Regions from separate parts of the Homo sapiens genome. Here all the other regions are linked to region 7. The links are contacts of gene promoters, found by promoter capture Hi-C in blood cells and fetal thymus (Javierre and others, 2016). All regions are on one chromosome and are shown on one strand. Each heading gives the region's core, a stretch centred on a gene start or on the middle of the fragment in contact. The rest is flanking DNA. Distances are from core to core; before and after follow the strand shown. Region 1 overlaps PPHLN1 (periphilin 1). Region 2 holds the start of MIR7851 (microRNA 7851). Region 3 has its middle 8.5 kb from the start of GXYLT1. Region 4 overlaps YAF2 (YY1 associated factor 2). Region 5 overlaps GXYLT1 (glucoside xylosyltransferase 1). Region 6 overlaps PPHLN1 (periphilin 1). Region 7 holds the start of TWF1 (twinfilin actin binding protein 1).

Region 1 (2,964 bases), core at 315-2,814, 1.4 Mb after region 7:
TTTATAATCTCTCCTTTTTTCCCTGAGATAGAAACTCTCATGGTTGACATTTGAAAACTAGTGCAAACTATGTTCAACAGTTAATTGTGATGAGAAGAATGAGAAAGAATTAAAAGCATTCTGCAACATTTTGTGAAACTGAGCCTAAAAAAGCCAGGTATTTACAGACATGAATGTATGGCTGTGTACAGAGAGAGAAAAAAAACTTGTTCATGAAGATAAGAAAGGCGTTCTGACAGTCATATTTGCAGTCCTATCTAATATTTTATCTCTGTGTGGACCCTAGAAGTTTAACCTTGATTTATGGGCCAGAGTAGTATTTCCCTTTTTAGGACCATTAAATCCCTAGTGATTTCTAGCCAAACCCAAGTGTTGCATATTATTCATGATAAAGCTTAAGGAGACACTTAATCTTTAAAAATATTCACTCAGCCTCCAGGAAAGTTCTAAAACCTGTGTTTAAAATGCCAACTCACTGGGGCACGGTGGCTCAGGCCTGTGATTCCAGCACTTTGGGAGGCTGAGGCAGGCAAATTGCTTGAGCCTAGGAGTTAGAGACCAGCCTGGGCAACACAGGGACAGGGAAACCCTGTCTCAAAAAAACAAAAACAAAAACAAAAACAAAAAAAAACAAGAAAGGCCAGGTGCAGGCTCACACCTGTAATCCCAGCACTTTGGGAGCCGAGGAGGGCAGATCACCTGAGTTCAGGAGTTCCAGACCAGCCTGGCCAACATGGTGAAACCCCGTCTCTACTAAAAATACAAAAATTAGCCAGGCATGGTGGCGTACGCCTGTAATCCCAACTACTCAGGAGGCTGAGGCAAGAGAATCACTTGAACCTGGGAGGTGAAAGCTGCCGTGAGCCGAGATCGCACCACTGCACTCCAGCCTGGGCGACAGAGTGAGACTCTGTCTCAAAAAAAAAAAAAAAAAAAAAGTGTCCGGTACTAGTGGTTAGCTGTAAAAACCACTCAGTATCAACTAGTATAATTTTCTTTGTGCAAGTATCATCTCGATTTTAAGGATTTTTTTGTTGTTTTATCCATAACCCTGAAGCATGCTAAATAGAGAAACAGTATATTAAAGTCTGGACATATTTTTAATACTGTTCCATAAATCACCAGGTAAAAACTGCAAGTAAGACAAAGGTCCATTTACCATGGAGAGAAAACTTACAACAAAAGCTTTCAAAACTATAGGTTTCTAGCTATGTTGGAAATGAAGGTATCAACATATATGATACAATGCATTCAATACAATGAACTATACGATGAATCAAAAAGGGCCTTTGAAGAAATATAAATAACAATACAACCAGGATTATGAGGCCTCCAAAAAACACATCTGACGAAACTGATGCTTTTTATTATCAAAGAGTACACAGCCTGAGAGTTAGGACAGTGTCTTTGGCTATATCGCAAACACTCCAGCTATACTGGCTGGCATATAAAAGACGCAAAGTCATCAGGAGAATGGAGGAAGGGAAGAACTAACACCCCATAAGGCACTGTCTCTCAAAATGTGGTCCTTGAACCATCTGTGATTGCAGATTACTTTAGATGCTTATTTGAAAAGCAGATTTTTGAAGCTCAGATTCTCCTGTTAATACAAATCCCCAAGGTAATTCCCGCCCCTCACATCAGTCAAACCAGGTAAGCGGTGATAGAACCCTCAGTGTCAGCAGACATATGTTCACCGGTTATGAGTAAAATTCGACAAAGTGGGAGAAAGGGATACAAGGGAAGGGAAGAATGGGGAGATGGAAAGCATTTACTTCTTATTCTGAACCTCATTTTTCTCTCCTTCCCACATCCAAATATACACAAATATTCATATAAAATATTGGCTACTTCCTTTCTAGTCAATAGGGACTTCCAAAAAGAATTACGATTTCAAGAATTATTTTGAGAAAGCAGCCAGGTAATTAGCAAGGCAAGCTTAAGAATAAGTGAAGTACAACCTCAAATATCTTTTATTTTAAATGTGGAAACGGAAAACCACAGACACTGCGACTTAAGCTGAGGAATTTTCCATATCACCTCTTCTTCTATCCTATCAAAAAATCAAACACCTGTCTGCCTGCTTGAGTTCAGATTAGAAGTTTGGTGGTCAAGTTCAAGGCTGTTTCCACAAAATCACATGTTTACAGTTAAAAGCATTCTAGAAAAAGTAGAACAAACGAAAGTATTCCAGGCATAAGATATGGACTAAGAGATCTTCCAACTAGAACTTTGTTTGTTTTTTTAAGGCGGAGTCTCCCTCTGTCGCCCACGCTGGGGTGCAACAGCACGCCTTCGCCTGCAAACTCCGCCTCCCAGGTCCAAGTGATTCTCGTGCCTCAGCCTTCCGAGCAGCTGGGATTACAGGAGCATGCCACCATACCCAGATAATTTTTGTACTTTTAGTAGAGATGGGGTTTCCCCATGTTGGCCAAGCTGGTCTCAAACTCCTGACCTCAGGTGATCCACCCACCTCGGGCTCCCAAAGTGCTTAGATTACAAGCATGAGCCACCTGCCTGGCCTTTTTAAAAATTTTTTGAGACAGAGTCTCACTCTGTCACCCAGGGTGGAGTGCAATGGTGTGATCACAGCTCACTGCAGCCTCAACCTCCCAGGCTCAAGCAATTCTCCCACATCAGCTTCCAAAGGTACCAAGCGCATGCCACCACATCCAACTTATTTTTTAATTTTTTTTGTAGAAATGGGGTCGCCTTATGTTGCCCAGGCTGGTCTCGAACTTCTGGGCTGAAGCTATCCTCCCACTTCAGCCTCCCAAAGTACTGGGATTACAGGTGTGAGCCACCACACCCAGCCCCTAGCATTTAAAAGTAAAGTATATTGGCCACTTGATGACACTCTTGTTCCATATTTTTCAACATTATATAATACTTCAAATCAGTTCCATCCTAAGATTTATTACTATTATTATTTTATTTTGAGACAGAGTTTTGCTCTTGTTGCCC
Region 2 (2,885 bases), core at 360-2,859, 1.5 Mb after region 7:
AAAAAGCGACGTATCTATGTTGAGTTCCTGAAGTTTTCTAAATAATTCCCCCATAACACCAAACATGAGGCAGTTTTCTCATTCCTTCACGAATTGGCATGCCATAGAGTCAGTATTTTTCCATTTGTGATGGTTGATCTTCCCATCTCAAATACACACCGCACGCTCTTTTTAAATCAGAAATTTGAATTTGGTTGAGCCTGATATTTTCACGGTAATTTGCTGACTTTGTAAGATAAGATGTGAAAATTACTGATTACATTTGTAAACTTTATATACATATACACACATACCTACAGGTCTGTCTCTTCGAGGCACCAAGCCTATTTATATAATGTATCATTTCATAATTTGGCAATAAGCAAAATTAGCGTTTCGAAAGAAGTTTATATTGTCGATACATAAAGCTTAAATTTACTCCTTAACATCATACTAAAAGGGGAAAAGAAAATTTTCCTCTTAACACACCACTCCAGAGAAAAAAAATATTAAGACAAGCAAAAAAGGTACCCAGCCATAGTACAGGCATGCACAGCATAACAACTTTTTGATTAACAACAAACCACATATACCACAGTGGTCTCCTAAGAGTGTAATACATTGTACCATATTTTTAGTGTACGTTTTCTGTGTTTAGCTATGTAAATATTTACCATTGTGTTTCAACTGTCTACATTATTCACTACATTAACATGCTGTACAGGTTGTAGCCTAGGAGCAATAGGCTAGACCATCTAGGTTTGTCTCAGTACACCCTGTGATGTCTGCACTGTGAAATCACGTAACACTCAGAACATACCTCCTTCATTAAGCATAGCATGACTGTGTATTAGCAAAAATCAGTGGCTAAGGTTCTGTCTGAGTCCCCATGCTCTTTCTGACCTGGGTGAGCAAGGTGCAGGTAATGTACATATACAGTACATATTCAATAGAGCATTTTTTTTGCTCATGGTCTGAGTGGAAGTTAGGAGTAGCCTCAGGGTTTTTCCTTCATCTGTTCAAAACCCGTCTCCCTACCCATACAATCTGGCACTGAAAGTGTTGGTATAAAGAATACTTGAAAGAAGAAGAACCAAAAAAGAATTTTTTTTAAGTGGTGACTGGGAAAAAGGAATTCCTTAATTCAGCCTGCTGGAGTCATTGTTCCTAACTTCCTAAAATGTAAGGAAGGTGTACACATCTGGCATAATTAAATCGGTGATTGTTAATACTTTATTGGTTTTTGTTTTTTGTTTTTTTCCAAATAATACCCAGACTGGTCTGATGTATTGGTTTTATTTGGAATTAATAATACTTGGTTTAGGCCAGGTGTGGTGATTCATGCCTGTAATCCCAGCACTTTGGGAGGCTGAGGCAGGTGGATCATTTGAGGTCAGGAGTTCAAGACCAGCCTGACCAACATGGTGAAACACTGTCTCTACTAAAAATACAAAATTAGCCAGGCATGGTAGTGGATGCCTATAATCCCAGCTACTCGGGAGGCTGAGGCAGGATAATTGCTTGAACCTGGGAAGCAGAGGTTGCAGTGAGCCGAGATCACGCCATTGCACCCCAGCCTGGGCAACAAGAGGGAAACTCCGTCTCAAACAACAAAAAAAGAATCCTGGTTTAGACTGATTGCTGATAAGTTTGTTTTCACTTTTAGAAATGAGTGGTGGATTGGCTCCAAGTAAGAGCACAGTGTATGTATCCAACTTGCCTTTTTCCCTGACAAACAATGACTTGTACCGGGTAAGTAAATCTTATCGAGTGACTGCTATTTGAGATACAGATAACCTTAAGCAAATAGTTCTCCCTGGCAAATTCTTTTTTCCTTTTTTTTTTTTTCTTTTTTTGAGACAGTCTAATTCTGTCACTGAGGCACGAGGCTGTAGTGCAGTGGCACTATCATGGCTCACTGCAGCCTCCCCGCCCCCTCAGGTGATCCTCCCACCTCATCCTCCCAAGTAGCTGGGAATACAGGTGTGTGCCACCATGCCTCTACAAGCTACCTGGGAGACTGAGGTTGGAAGATTGCTTGAGCCTAGGAGGTCGAGGCGACAGTGAGCCAAGGTCACACCACTGCACTCCAGCCTGGGTGACAGAATGAGACCCTGTCTCAAAAAAAAAAAAGAAAAAAAAATAGAAGCTATATTTATTGAACATTTAAGTCAAATTATGTGTTAGATACTAAGGAGATGCTAAGATGTTAGGTGCTAAGGAGAAAAAATAACGCAGGAAAGGTGGGCTATTGAACGTTAAGTTGGGAATGGAAGTGAAATTTTACATAGGGCGGTCAGAAATGCCATTATTGAGAAGGTGACTTTTGAATAAAGACCTGAAACGAGTAAGAGGCACCTGTGCAAATTCTAGAGGACAAACATTTCAGAAAAAGAGGGGTAATCTTAGGTAAGCCCACTCGAGGTGCCTTATACGACCTATTTACATCATGGTAAGGACTCTGGCTTTCACTCTGCATGAAACAAGAAGCCATTAGTAAGTATTATATAGAAGACTGTACTGGCCTTCAGAACCCAGTGTTGCTAACACTGCTATCCAGTTATTTTACATTCCAGCATTATACAGCTTAATCATAGAACGAAAAAATTCGTTATTATTGGTTGCATATACTAACACATTCTAAAAGACTTTTTATATAATAGGAACTCTTAGTATATGGGTAATGAGCTGGAACTGTAGAAATAAATGAGATTGCATAGGATAAAGTAAAAGTAACAGAAGAGAGAGCCAAGTATAAAGTTCCACCAACATGTTAATGGTGGGCAGAGGAAGAAGACTGATAGAAATGGATTTTTCATTATAAAAGCTTATTTTATGAGGTTTTGTTTTGTTTTTTAAATAAAGCAGTCTAAGGATTTGCCTTCTCAAACAGGGATTGCTTAATA
Region 3 (2,700 bases), core at 68-2,567, 1.7 Mb after region 7:
GTAATCCCAGCACTTTGGGAGGCCGAGGTGGGCAGATCACCTGAGGTCGGGCGTTCGAGACCAGCCTGGCCAATACGGTGAAACCCCGTCTCTACTAAAAATACAAAAAATTAGCTGGTCATAGTGGCAGGCACCTGTAATCCCAGCTACTTGGGAGACTGAGGCAGGAGAATTGCTTGAAACCAGGAGATGGAGGTGGCAGTGAGCAGAGATCCCACCCCTGCACTCCAGCCTGGGTGACAGAGCGAGACTCCATCTCAAAAAAAAAAAAAAAAAAAAATTGAGTTCAGTTTTAATAATTATGTAGCCTTGGTTGTCTGCTTATCTGCATTCTAACTTTTTAGTCTTTTTTTTAATCAGAGGAAAAGATTTAATATAAAGATTCAAGCTTCACATCATGACAAATAATAAATTGTGAAATATAATTTTTTCTTCTTCTTTTCGTATTTTTTATAAATATTGGGTTTCACAACATTGCCCAGGCTGGTCTTGAACTCCTGGGCTCAAGCCATCCTCTCGAGTTGGCCTCCTAAAGTATTGGGATTATAGGTGTGAGCCATGGAGGCTGGTGGTGGCTCTTTTTCTATTTTAATCTAATTTCTTATTCTTGATCTTTTTTGTATTTTTCCAGAGTTTGATTTTTATCTACTTGTTTTTCTTTTGTTTTTATAAATGGCCACAAATATCTAGTGTAAATCAGGCCAAATAGTATTTAAAAAAAAAATCTTCCTTATTTCAAGTTGTAAGAATAAACTCCTAGGGGAACTATTTGGGGCAAGGATCCAGTGAGATACATACCTCCCCATCTGGAATTCCTGAGGAGTGGAAATAATACATACAGTTTTAGTAGGTCTTTAGATTACATCTAGATTTAAATCGGCTGACCTACCTGGAAGAAGGGAGTTTGGATGAAAGCTACCACCTCATCATCATTTTTCTAATAAATCTTTTAGCAAGAAAATTCAGAAACTAAATGGATATTATTTTCATTATCCTCTTTTAATTCATAATCCAACAATAAAATGGTCCTGTGTTTACTTTTGGAGTCAGCAAGAATGGGAAGAGTTGGAAGGTTATAAAACTAGTTTGGGAGAAGACTTCTAAAGGACAAAGAAAATGACGGTGAACACATTTTGTTTTTTAATTTTTAATTTCTGTGGGTACATAGGTGTATATATTTACAGGGTACATGAGATGTTTTGATACAGACATGTAATGCATAATAATCACATCATGGAGATTGGAGTATCCATCTCCTCAAGCATTTATCCTTTGTGTTACTGACAATCCAATTATACTCTTTTAGTTATTTTTAAATGTACAATTATGTTATCAAATAGAAGGTCTTATTCATTCTATTTTTTTGTACTCATTAACTATCCTCACCACCCCCACCATCTACCCTTCCCAGCCTCTAGTAACCATCCTTCTACTATCTGTCTCCATGAGTTTAACTGTTTTAATTTTTAGATCCCACAAATAAGTGAGAACATGGGATTTTTGTCTTTCTGACCCCGGCTTATTTCACTTAACATAATCATCTCCAGTTCCATCCATGTTGTTGCAAATGACTGGAACTCATGTTTTTTATGGGTGAGTAGTACTCCATTGTTTGTATGTACCACATTTTCTTTATCCAGTCATCTGTTGATGGACATTTACTTTGCTCCCAAATCTTAGCTATTGTAAACAGTGCTGTAATAAACACCAGAGTGCAGATATCTCTTCAATATACTGATTTCCTTTCTTTTGGGTATATACCCAGCAATGGGATTGCTGGATACTATGGTAGCTCAATTTTTAGTTTTTTTTTTGAGGAACCTCCAACCTGTTCTCCATAGTGGTTGTACTAATTTACATTCCCACCAACAATGTACAAGGATTCCCTTTTCTCCACATCCTTGCCAGCATTTGTTATTGCCTGTTTTTTGGATAAAAGTCATTTTAACTGGGGTGAGATGATATCTCATTGTAGTTTTGATTTGCATTTCTCTGATGATCAGTGATCTTGAGCACCTTTTCATATGCCTGTTTGCCATTTGTACATCTTCTTTTGAGAAATGTCTATTCAAACATTTGGCCCATATTTTGATTGGATTATTAGATTTTTTTTTCCTACAGAGTGTTGCTTGAGCTCCTTATATATTCTGGTTATGAATCCCTGGTCAGAGGGGTAGTTTGCAAATATTTTCTCCAATTCTGTGGGTTTCCTCATGTTGTTGTTTCCTTTGCTGTGCAGAAGCTTTTCAACTTGATATGATTCCATTTGTCCATTTTTGCTTTGGTTGCCTGTGCTTTTGGGGTGTTACTCAAGAAATTTTTGCCAAGACCAAGGTCCTGGAGATTTTCCCCAATGTTTTCTTTTAGTAATTTCATAGTTTGAGGTCTTAGAGTTAAGTCTTTAATCCAGTTTGATTGGATTTCTGTATACGGTGAGAGATAGGGGTCTAGTTTCATTCTTATGCATATGGATATCCAGTTTTCCCAGCACCATTTATTGAAGAGATTGTCTTTTCCCATTGTATATTGTTGGCACCTTTGTCAAAAATGAATTCATTGTAGCTGTGTGGACTTGTTTCTGGATTCTCTTTTCTTTTCTATTCTTTTTTTTTTTTTTTTTTTGGAGACAGAATCTCACTGTGTCACCCAGGCGGGAGTACAGTGGTGCAATCTTGGCTCACTGCAACCTCTACCTCCTGG
Region 4 (2,700 bases), core at 62-2,561, 1.6 Mb after region 7:
TTTAGAAAATTCGTTTTTTGGAGGCAGGAACATTAAAGTGGAAACAATTATAATCTTGATCTCTGGTACTATATATTATTGCTTTTTGTTGTTCCCTCTCTATTTTCTTGTAGCCATTAGAAAAATACTGAAACTAGAAGAGCCTATATGTTTATTTGCAGGGACAGCAAGGAAGGGGGGAAGCTGGTGTCCTACTCCACAGCCAGTCTTGGGGTTAGAGGAACCCTGAGAAATAGAGTAGGTGGTGGCAGCTCAGAAGAGAAGAAACAGGCTGAATACCTGGCACCTGGAAGAAGAAGGAATATAGTACACAGGGGAGTTGGCCCAGGACAGAGAAGTGGGCCTAGTTTAAAAGAGGCTTGAGGCCCACATGGGGGCCCCTGACATTTTTTTTTTTTACCAGTACATCTAAGCTCTTGTAGATCCAATTTTTAGTGGTGGAAACATTACTTGAGGAGGACTCAGAGAAGCATTGTCATTTGGATTGAAACTGAAGAGGCTCTGGGCAACTCACCAGAAATCTAAGGGACACTGTGTTCCTGAAAGTAAGTGTTCTACACCACGACCCTCTCAGCTTCTTCCTTCCTCTCTCTGAATTCTCTTCTCTTTTGATTTTGGCTCTAAGTTAAACCTAAGAGCTCTAATTTCTCTGTTATCTGTTATTTTCCTAGTGGTTTCTGAAATTCAGGGTAGAATCTGTGTTTGTATAGAACAGTGTGGAACAGGGTATTGTTACTAGAGAAGATATTGATTGCATCACAGAATATTAATATTTTTCCTCTCTGGTAATGTTAAAAAAACAAGATTAAAGGACTGCAGAACGGTGTTGAGAAGCAAAAGTTTCAGTAGTTGGAAGAAATAATTCTCCATAATTGACTTATTAATGAACAGGGTAATTTCCAGAGTAAGGTTGGCAAGTACTAAAGCCAAGACTGGATAGCTGCAGAGCAGAAGGATGCAGTTTGCTAATGATTTGTTTGTGTGACGCACAGATGGGATTTGAATCCTTTGGGTCAGACTGACCTTTGAACTGATTCTGCCTCATTGCCAAATGTTAGGCCAAGTCTAAGCCATTCTAGACATTTGAAAAACTTTTTTCTTTTTAGACCTGCAGAGAAGATTGAGTCCTTGTTCTACCTTTGAAGTCTTCTTTTTTTCTTTTTTCTTTTTTGAGATAAGATCTCATTCTGTTGCCCAGGCTGGGTTGCAGTGGCATCATCCAGGCTCACTGCAGCCTCGAACTCCCAGGTTCAAGGAATCCTCCCACCTCAGCCTCCCAAGTAGCTGAAACTACAGATGCACACCACCATGTGTGGCTAATTTTCTTATTTTTTGTAGAGATGGGGGATCTCTATGTTGCCTAGGCTAGTCTCAAACTCTTGAGCTCAAGTGATCCTCCTACCTTGGCCTCCCAAAGAACTGGGATTATAGGAATGAGCCACCATTCGGCCCCTTTAAAGTCTTTATTGGCAATATAATTTTTTTTCTTTAAATAATATTAAGTTCAAATTCTTTATGCAACAGAAGCCCATTTCCTTTGGCTATATCCATGGTAGGTCATGTCTTTCTAGAGAACGAAGTTACATTCATGGCATGTATTTCAAAATAAAATGATTTGTTGTAGCTTCAGTTCCTCAAGTTTTAATTTTATTTTAGATTTTGGGGTACATGTGCATGTTTGTTACTTGGGTATATTGCAGAGTGGTGGGATTGGGATTCCAGTGTACCCATTACCCAAATGGTGAACGTTATACCCAACAGGTCATTTTTCAGCCCCTCACTCCAAAATTTTTTACATTGTGCTTTTGTGAGAGAAACAGTAGTAAATGTCAAACTGACAGGAAATTTTTTAAAAGGAAACAAAATGCCACGGTGACACATTATTTTCAAGATGCTGCACAGTCTTTATATCTGAAGTTTCTTTTCTTTCTTTTCTTTTCTTTTCTTTTCTTTTCTTTTCTTTTCTCTTTTTTTTTTTGAGGCAGAATTTGAGACAGTCTTGCTCTGTCGCCCAGGCTGGAGTACAGTGGCGTGACCTCGGCTCACTGCAACCTCCACCTCCCAGGTTCAAGCAATTCTCATGCCTCAGCCTCTGTGGTAGCTGGGATTACAGGTGCCCGCCACCACACCAGGCTAATTTTTGTATTTTTAGTAGAGATGGGGTTTCACTATGCTGGCCAGGCTGGTCTCAAACTCCTGACCTCAGGTGATCCGTCTGCGTCGGCTTCCCAAAGTGCTGGGATTACAGGAGTGAGACACTGTGCCCAGCCTATCTGAAGATTCTTATAAGGCAAGAAATGTCCCAAATATAAATGCAAGAAACTTTAGGAAATTAAGGATCATTCTTGGCTGGCCCAGTGGCCCACACCTGTAAGCCCAGCACCTTGGGAGGCTGAGACAGGAGGATTTCTTGAGGCCAGGAGTTTGAGACCAACCTGGGCAACACAGTGAGATCTCGTCTCTACTAAAAATTAAAAAAATTAGCTGGGTGTGGTGGTGCATGCCTGTGGTCCCAGCTACTCAGGAGGCTGAAGTGGGAGGATCCCTTGAGCCCCAGAGTTCGAGGTTGCAGTGAGCTGTGATCATACCACTGCACTCCAGCCTGGGCAACAGAGTGAGACCTTGTCTCAAAAAAACAAAATTCTGAGTCATCAGAGAAAATGAAATATTAAATATTAAGGATAGTCTGTATGAGGGTGA
Region 5 (2,700 bases), core at 117-2,616, 1.7 Mb after region 7:
ATTATGCTTGTATTATTCTGCTTTGCTTTGTAACAACCCCATACATCTAAACAGTTTACAATAGCAAGCATTTATTTCTTGCACACATTACATGTCTATGGCTATGACTTTGCTTGATATATCTTCTCATCCTGGGATCCAAGCTAAAGGAGCAATCCATACATTGGATATGCCTGGTCTTGTGGTAGTGGATGAGCAAGAAGCCAGATTGAACAACACAGTCCCATTTGAAGCTTCTACTTTGATGCCACAGTATCATGTCTTTTTATATTATTTTGGCCAAAGCAAGTCACTTGAATAAGGTCAAAGTCAATAAATGATGCAGGGATATATGCCTCCCTTATCAGGCAGGCAAGGCCCATGGTAATGAATAGGGTTGTATAATCCTTTTACAGTTAAATGTGGGGAGTGAATAACTGAACAGTAATACAGTCTACTACACAAATAGAGATTGCCAGTTAAGGAGAAAGAAAGACTAATTGATGCAAGAAGGTCTTTAAGGACTCCTGAGAAGAAGATGGGCAACAAGGGGAAGCATATGGAGTTGGTAATAGGTATGAGACTAGCTAAGGGGAAGACAATTAATTTATATTTCTACTAATCAGCATAGTCATGTCATTAACTGTTCTTCAGTATTCATCTGAGAATGTGAATGAACAGCTCAGTTTCAACTGAAGATTGTGCTGAAAAGGTACGGTGAAAGAAGAAGGTGGAAGTTTGCAGGTATAGGAACATGAATGGATGAACCATATGATGTAGTCTGAGTAGGGAGGGAAATGGGTAAAGCAGGGAGCTTATACTTAGGAAGCATGTGATTGGAGGGCTGAGTGATTTCCACACATGTAATGGGATATAAATAATAAGCCTGGGCAACAAAGCAAAACTTTGTCTCTACAAAAAATTTTTTAAAAATTAGGCTTGGTGGCACATGCTTATAGTCCTAGATACTTGGGGACTGAGGCAGGACGATAGCTTGAGCCCAGGAGATTGAGGCTGTAGTGAGCTGTGTTTGTACCACTGCACTCCACCCTGAGCGACAGAGCAAGACCCTGTCTCAGAAAAAAGAACCATAATTATTAGATCAGAGACTAGTCTGAGATGAGGTATTGGATTGCAGTTTCTGACAGGGTCCAGGATTTGTCATTTTTTTACTTTTTCTTCTCTCTCTCTTTTTTTTTCTTTTGTCAGAGAGGGTCTCACTCTGTTGCCCAGACCTGGTGTGCATTGGCATGATCACAATTCACTGTAGCCTCAAACTCCTGGGCTCAAACTATCCTCCTAACTCAGCCTCCCGAGTAACTGGGACTACAGGCACACACCACCATGCCTGGCTAATTTTTTTTTTATTCTTTGTAGAGATGGGGTTTTGCCATGTTGCCCAGGCTGGTGTTGAACTCCTGGGCTCAAGCGATCCACCCACGTCGGCCTCCTAAAGTGCTGGGATTACAGGTGTGAGCCACTGTGCCCGGCCAGCATTTGCCATTTTTCACTGAAGGGAAAAGGAGGTAAGAGTTACTGGATTTAAAGAATTGTGTAACCTGGGTGTTGGTTAGGTCTCTCACCTTGCAGTATCTGAAATGACATTCTGTTACTCCCCACTAGACAGTATGATCCATGTCCATTTTACTCACTATAGTGTTGCCAGTGTTTGGCCTGTGTAGGTAGTCATTCAGTAGAAAATTTATTGATTTACCAAATGAATGGTTAGAGGAAAGTAGGATTTGGTACTGAGACGAGGACTGTGAACCGGATGCTAGTTTTCTGTGAGTTGGGGAGGAACCAGTAGGTTGGTAGATCAGAATGGTGTGGCATTGTGGCTCTTTTACATGGCTAGCAGTTGATGCTGGCTTTTGACTAGGAGCTCAGTGGAGGCTGTTGATCTGCATTCTCTCAAGTGGCTTCTGCATGTGCCTTGGGCTTCTTACAACGTGAAGATCAGGTTCAAAGAGTGTTCCAAGAAATAGGATGTGGAGCTCTTAAGGGAAGGGCCTGGACATTGGTACAGTATTATATTCAGTATTCTATTTGTCAAAGCAATCACAGAGCCCACTTAGATTCTGGATAAGGGGAGTTAGATCCTACTTGGTTGGTTGGTTGGTTGGTTTTTTGAGACAGAGTCTTTCTCTGTCACCCATGCTGGAGTGCAATGGAATGATCTTGGCTCACTGAAACCTCCGCCTCCTGGGTTCAAGCGATTCTCCTGCCTCAGCCTCCTGAGTAGCTGGGATTACAGGCAACCGCCACCACACCTGACTGATTTTTTTTATTAGAGATGGGGCTTCACCATGTTGGCCAGGCCATTCTCAAACTCCTGACCTCAAGTGATCCGCCTACCTTGGCCTCCCAAAGTGCTGGGATTAGAGGCATGAACCACTGCGTGCAGCAGATCCTACTTATTAATAGAAGTGTCAGATGTGTGATCATCCTTAATCCACCATACTTGGCACCTAGTTTGGTACTAGCAGAAGTGTAGGGCTCTTGGTGTGGCTCAAAGCTTCACAAAATTTAAACTCGTTACTGAGTTGTTCAATATGTTGGTCTTGTTGAATTTAATTCTCATGTCTGTGGCTTCGTCATCTTGCATCAACTTAAAAAAAAAAACAAAACAAAAACATTGCCCCCAAATACAGTTTAATTGTAATACTGCAAGAGGGTCTTTTGAGTTAGAAGCTCCCTGGTGGATATTTCCTGAGAACAGGG
Region 6 (2,827 bases), core at 94-2,593, 1.5 Mb after region 7:
TTGTACTTACATGGGAAAATTTACATGAACACTGATGACTGTATAAAACAATAATAATATGTGGGGCATAAAAAGAACAGAAATTTAAATATGCCTGTGAAGATTTTGAATAAAAGTGTTTCATGAAATAAGAATGGAAAGAAAAAATATTTCAACATTAATACATTTTAAACAATGTTATATGGAATATGTATATAACTGAATTACTAAATTAAGTAGACCTGACTGTCAAGTTAGTCAAAAGAAAAATGTCTGGATTATGGTTTGAGTACATTTACATTTGAGAACAGGTGGAACTGATATGCATCCCATCTATTCCCTATAAAGGCTCAGATATTAACAAAATCATGTTCTGGATTTACTAAAGGATTTATTTTTGATTGGCCAAACTCTCTAGGAGAGAGAAATAAACAATGACAAGAATTATAAAAAAGATTCAATTAATCTAAGGAAGTAAATATTGTTATTTAACTACTTAATTACAAAAACTAATTATGTAACTCATATTTACCACAAATGTGACAGAAAAATAACGTGTTGCTGTTCTTGACATCACTACTAGTCAATATTGTTCTCCCTGCTGCTGCCAAAACCAGAAAAATCTTTTAATGCAAAATAATGTATTTGTTAAAGAAACAGAAAAATGAAGCAGGGATAAGCAGATAGGACTGCTTCAGCCCCAGCTCTGTTGTAATTGCCCAGAATATAAACTGCTAGTGCTCTGATCCTAATTTCCAAACATTACAACTTTTAAAAATTCTGAAACTGGAACTTCTCTCCCATTTTCAAATAAGCTAATGAAAAAATCGACATTTTATGTTGCAGCTTCATTAAAATGTTCCATATTACCTAACTGTTCTCCAACAGGCTAAGAAGCTGGAACCCCATAAGTGGAAGTTTACATGTATTTAAAAGCCATTCTGGGCTGGGCATGGTGCCTCATGCCTGTAATCCCAACGATCTGGGAGGCCAAGGTGAGAGGATCACTTGAGCCCAGGGGTCTGAGGCTGCAGTGAGCTGTGGCTGCTCCACTGCACTTCAGCTGGATGACATAGCAAGACCCTGTGTGTATGTACATATGAACGAATGAATGAATGAATGAATGAATGAATGCCATTCTGTCACAAAACTTGATAAAGGTTAAGAAATCAGATAACTAAGCTCATAGAAATTATAGGTTTAAAGACAGAAAGCATGCTTTAAAAACAAGAGCTTTACAGGTACCTAGAAGTGTAGATATTCTGTGGTGACTGATTTCCTTCCTATAGAAGAAGCATATATATTTACATACAAAATCTCTGTAGTGCACTTCTTTGAACTTTAGTCTGCTACCTACCTACCCAAGTTTAAGGCCAAATAAAAATTTCTGTGAAAGCCCCTTATAAAAGTGACTTACTATTTATACATAAAGAATTTAAAAGCGCCTGGGCGCGATGGCTCACACCTATAATCCTAGCACTTTGGGAGGCCAAGGCAGGCGGATCACGAGGTCAGGAGATCGAGACCATCCTGGCTAACACGGTGAAACCCCGTCTCTACCAAAAATACAAAAAATTAGCCGGGCGTGGTGGCAGGTGCCTATAGTCCCAGCTACTCGGGAGGCTGAGGCAGAAGAATGGCGTGAACCCGGGAGGCGGAGCTTGCAGTGAGCCGAGATCGCCCGCTGCACTCCAGCCTGGGCGATAGAGCCAGACTCCGCCTCAAAAAATAATAATAATAATAATAATTTAAAAGCATACCATAAAGTGCTAAAATAATGACTGGTACATTTGTTAAGCTGTATATTGAGGATAAGTTTGCCAAAACTCAAATTAAGTATAATTTAACATCAAAACCAAAGTATATTAGTGTTCAATTGTCTTTTCAGGTTTATCAAGGCTAGAAACTCAGAAAACAGCTGCTTTTATTAACGAGGTCATACTACTACAGAAGGTACCTTACCTTCCCAACAGTCACCACTTCACGTTGCACTTTATATCACATCTAGTAGTTCCTCAAATACATTTATTTTGTATCAGAATTGATCATAAATGGGGCAAAGAGTGTACTAAGAAAAAACGGAGAAGCCGGGCACGATGGCTCACGCCTGTAATCCCAGCACTTTGGGAGGCCGAGGCGGATCACCTGAGGTCAGGAGTTTGAAACCAGCCTGGTCAACATGGCAAAACCCCACCTCTACTAAAAAATACAAAAAATAGCCAAGCGTGGTGGTAGGCGCCTGTAATCCCAGCTATTCAGGGAGGCTGAGGCACAAGAATCGCTTGAACCTGGGAGGCAGAGGTTGCAGTGAGCTGAGATCATGCCACTGCACTCCAACCTGGGCGACAGAGCAAAACTCCATCTCAAAAAAAAAAAAAAAGAAAGAAAGAAAGAAAAAAAGGGAGAGAAATTCTGTAAAATTGTTTTTTGATAAAGAACAGGATTCAAATACATAAAACAAAATAGAATGTTACCTTCCTCTATTCCAAGCACTAACGATAGTGGGTTATCAACTTAACTAGTTTTATATTTTGCAAAAAAAATCTGCCTTTTCAAAACTTTTGAGGTATGCCATACATATAAAAAAGTGTACAAATCACAAATGGATAAATTTCACAAGGTGTAAGTACCACCCAGATTAAGAAAGAGAATATTCCCAGCGCAGCAAAATCGTTCATTGTGCGGTCTCCCAGTCACTACTGCCTCTTCCCAAAAGAAACCACTTTCCCAGCTAGTTTCACTTGTTTTGGAATGTTACATAAAATGAAACACGCAGAATAAACTCTTGTGACTGACTTCTTTCTTTTAATATTATATTTGTGAAGTTTATCCATGTTGTTGCACTTGG
Region 7 (2,958 bases), core at 34-2,533:
GGACATGAATCAGTCAAAATACTGCAAGTCAACTCTGCAATTTTCTCTCTGCTCAGCAATGTAGTCAAAAACTGGTAAATCAGGGTGAACCATTGTGTCAGGAAGAATTTGATTAGAATGAAACTCCTCCCTACATTTCTTAAATCCATACAAGTCATAAAACTCAGATTTAGTTTATTCCTGAATATGAGAATATGTCTGAAAAACAGAGCTCAGATAACAGGCAATAGAACATAACCTTGTTTGCTGTGATTCTTGTAAAGAAAAACAATTGCAGGCCTGTTCATCACTCATGAAAAATACATCGTATAGTACTGGAACAGTGATTAACTTGCACTTATATTATTGACCTGAATAAATTATTTCTTCATTAGCAGATTATAATTTTGTGTATGTGTCACTTCAAGGCCCTAAAAATAAGAACTAGCTTCCCACCTAGTAGCAGTAGAGAAGCAGTACCAAAAAAAAACCAAACCCCCCACAAAACTAACATTACCTTTCAGGAAGGAACTACATGTTTGTAAAAGCAGGAAAGGAAAAGATTTTTAAGTAATATCTGCTGCTACCTTACAAATCTGTCCAAGTGAATTTTGAATAATTACTGGATTAAATAATAAACTGCCAACCTAAAGCAGAGCAGGATTTGCAATGGTATAATCGACCACAGAGGGATACTCAAATCAGCTAATCTCTTAGTGGCTGTCTCTTTCCGGAGTGAAGAGAAAGATACACTGAGTCTCTAAATGTGTCCAGCTGAAAAGAAAAGTTAACAGTCTGAGATTAACTTAATTTAAAATCGTGGAAAAATTTGATGAGAGGCAGTCTATATTAATTCTTTCAAAACAATGGAGCAAGGAGAAGGCTTTTCTACACTAAACGGTATCGATTATAGGAAGAGTAAACCAAGAAAAATAATGTGCACATCTTTTTTAAGCTGGAAAATGCCTATTTGGTAAAATGATCACTTCCGTTTTTGAGCACCCCTTTGCTGAGGCAGCGAATGGCGGCGTCGGCGGGGTTGTCAGAGAGCAGACGTCGGAGCACTGAGCAGTCTAGATTCTGCGGCATGTCCCCCCCGGAAGAAGCGGGAGAGGCGGCGGCAAGAGCAGAAGCAGGACCCCAAGCAGAGAACTAGGATAGCGAGGCCGGGGGCTGGACCGCAGCCCGGCGGCCAGGAAGGGCGGCGGGGCGGCGGGGACGCTCGGGCACTCAGTCAACCTCACGGGGCGGGGCGGCCGCGGGTCGCGGGCGGATGACGCGCCGGGGCCGGCGGAGGAGCAGCCACTTCCTGGGGCCGCCGGCCGGGGCCGCTGGCTGCACTCAGCGCCGGAGCCGGGAGCTAGCGGCCGCCGCCATGTCCCACCAGACCGGCATCCAAGGTAACAGCGCCCGGCGCGACTCGCAGGGAAGGGGCTTCCGGGAGAGCCGGGAGAGCCGGGAGGGCTGCAGGACCGGCAGGGCTGGAGTCGGGCCGGGAGCTCCGGAAGTCGGTCTCGCGGGGCGAGCCGGGCCTCGGCGCCTCTCCGCGCTCCTGCTTCCCGGGCGCTGCCGGCCTGCGTCCTCCTCCAGCCCGGTCCCTGCTGCCGTCACGTTGCAGATTGATCCGAAATTCGGGGGAGCGAAGGAAATTGGCTTTCGAGGCGGCCTGGTTGAAGGGGGCGTGCCTTCCACCGTCCCCGACAGTCGCCCAACTTTCCCCCTTTTGGTCACGTAGGGAAGAGCTGGGACAGTGGAGGCGACTGGGGCTTCAGTACGCTGTCGAGAACCAGGCGAGTTTTCTTTTTCATGGTCCAAAGGAGAATATTACAGGACTTTGATTACAAAAAGAACCATGCCAGAATCTTTCTCACATCAGTAGGGGTGCTTCCCAAAACTCTCCCGCATTTTCTCTCCAAATAGGAAAATGAGAGTTATGTTCTGAGAAATCTCGAGTGTAAGCGTGTGTTTTGATCTTTTTCCTAGATACTCCCCAAGGGAAACTGATCTGTATGGTTGCATGTAATGCGTGCAGACAGTTCAATATGCAGTTATATCTGACCTCCATTATTTCCTGGTTTGAAATTGGGCAGCCTGCAGGTACTCACCTCATCAAGAGTCAAATAATATATCCCCGGGTTACTCGCGATCACTTAACGAGTTCTAGTGTAAACTCAAGCTCTTACTGTTAATAGCGAGTCTTTCTCCCAGATGAACACTTAATTGTATGTTTTATTCGTAAAGATTTTTGACACCACCGCACACATCCCCCTGCACGCACGCAGAAGCAAAATAGTCTCAAATCTGAAAACTTTGTTTTATTTATCCGCATTAATTTCGATATATAAATATGTAGTTATTGACTCTCATGCTTGAGCCTTATAGCAAGCACTACCTACTTACATAGTGGTTCTTGCTGCTAATAGACAACACAGGAACGAAATTAGAACGAAATTGAAGCTTTAATAGGAACACAAGGGTTAGTTATTAAATACATATTTATTCAATGAGTTTAATCTAGCTTTTGAGAAATGCAAGTTAGAAAAATATAACCAGAGTTAAGACTGAATGCATTTTATTGTCTTTTTCTTTAAACAAGTTAGGATATTTGATATATACTGTTGTTTTTAACGGGAAAATACAGAAAGTGAATTGATGAAGGAGTGTCTGTCATAAGCTTGAAACTGAATTAGAGAATGAAAGCAGGTTTTCAATATTTTTCAAAAGAGCAAGAAAAGTTTTTCAAAATTGTAATTTGCTCATTATTGGGTTTGAGTAACTTCAGTATATTCACCCCAGTGTTATTTCTGCACAGAATTATGTAGCTAAAACAGATTAGAATTATTAACATACTTTTAAAATGCTAATATTTATATTTCTTAATTGTATACAGTCTTCGTTATTTTATGCGGTAAAGTTTTATAATACTGATAATAAGGATGCTACATGCTCCAGATTTTTTCTTTGTATTCTAATTAACTT

The links. The method cuts DNA at HindIII sites, captures the fragments that hold promoters and counts their contacts. A CHiCAGO score of 5 or more calls a contact.
Region 1: a fragment that was not itself captured here is called in contact with the fragment with the promoter of TWF1 in region 7 in 2 of 17 cell types (M1 macrophages and M0 macrophages); the score reaches 5.6 in M1 macrophages.
Region 2: a fragment that was not itself captured here is called in contact with the fragment with the promoter of TWF1 in region 7 in 10 of 17 cell types (total B cells, non-activated CD4 T cells, naive B cells and 7 more); the score reaches 14.2 in total B cells.
Region 3: a fragment that was not itself captured here is called in contact with the fragment with the promoter of TWF1 in region 7 in 1 of 17 cell types (M0 macrophages); the score reaches 6.0 in M0 macrophages.
Region 4: a fragment that was not itself captured here is called in contact with the fragment with the promoter of TWF1 in region 7 in 6 of 17 cell types (non-activated CD4 T cells, total B cells, activated CD4 T cells and 3 more); the score reaches 13.7 in non-activated CD4 T cells.
Region 5: a fragment that was not itself captured here is called in contact with the fragment with the promoter of TWF1 in region 7 in 2 of 17 cell types (monocytes and non-activated CD4 T cells); the score reaches 7.0 in monocytes.
Region 6: a fragment that was not itself captured here is called in contact with the fragment with the promoter of TWF1 in region 7 in 1 of 17 cell types (total B cells); the score reaches 5.9 in total B cells.

What each region holds. Positions count from the first base shown.
Region 1 is chr12:42,364,199-42,367,162 of GRCh38, reverse strand. The region is part of intron 4 of PPHLN1 (periphilin 1); the gene reads right to left. Among named protein-coding and RNA genes, the nearest start is that of PPHLN1, 40 kb to the right of the region's middle. The HindIII fragment of the contact is 753 bases long and covers 1,188-1,940 here.
Region 2 is chr12:42,322,865-42,325,749 of GRCh38, reverse strand. ZCRB1 (zinc finger CCHC-type and RNA binding motif containing 1) reads left to right here. Exons shown (of 8, transcript NM_033114.4): 2 at 1,646-1,731. The coding sequence starts at 1,648. It overlaps MIR7851 (microRNA 7851), which reads left to right and starts at 1,891; the gene lies at 1,891-2,050. The HindIII fragment of the contact is 2,399 bases long and covers 410-2,808 here.
Region 3 is chr12:42,152,006-42,154,705 of GRCh38, reverse strand. No RefSeq gene overlaps it. Among named protein-coding and RNA genes, the nearest start is that of GXYLT1, 8.5 kb to the right of the region's middle. The HindIII fragment of the contact is 1,854 bases long and covers 391-2,244 here.
Region 4 is chr12:42,233,459-42,236,158 of GRCh38, reverse strand. All of the region lies in intron 2 of YAF2 (YY1 associated factor 2), which reads left to right. Among named protein-coding and RNA genes, the nearest start is that of YAF2, 3.4 kb to the left of the region's middle. The HindIII fragment of the contact is 4,151 bases long and covers 1-2,700 here.
Region 5 is chr12:42,132,686-42,135,385 of GRCh38, reverse strand. The region is part of intron 1 of GXYLT1 (glucoside xylosyltransferase 1); the gene reads left to right. Among named protein-coding and RNA genes, the nearest start is that of GXYLT1, 11 kb to the left of the region's middle. The HindIII fragment of the contact is 2,261 bases long and covers 236-2,496 here.
Region 6 is chr12:42,340,516-42,343,342 of GRCh38, reverse strand. The region is part of intron 2 of PPHLN1 (periphilin 1); the gene reads right to left. Among named protein-coding and RNA genes, the nearest start is that of PPHLN1, 16 kb to the right of the region's middle. The HindIII fragment of the contact is 3,964 bases long and covers 1-2,827 here.
Region 7 is chr12:43,804,642-43,807,599 of GRCh38, reverse strand. It overlaps TWF1 (twinfilin actin binding protein 1), which reads left to right and starts at 1,283. Exons shown (of 9, transcript NM_002822.5): 1 at 1,283-1,379. The coding sequence starts at 1,355. It also overlaps a transcript of TMEM117 not described here. RefSeq lists a silencer at 1,108-1,587. The HindIII fragment of the contact is 5,668 bases long and covers 1-2,438 here.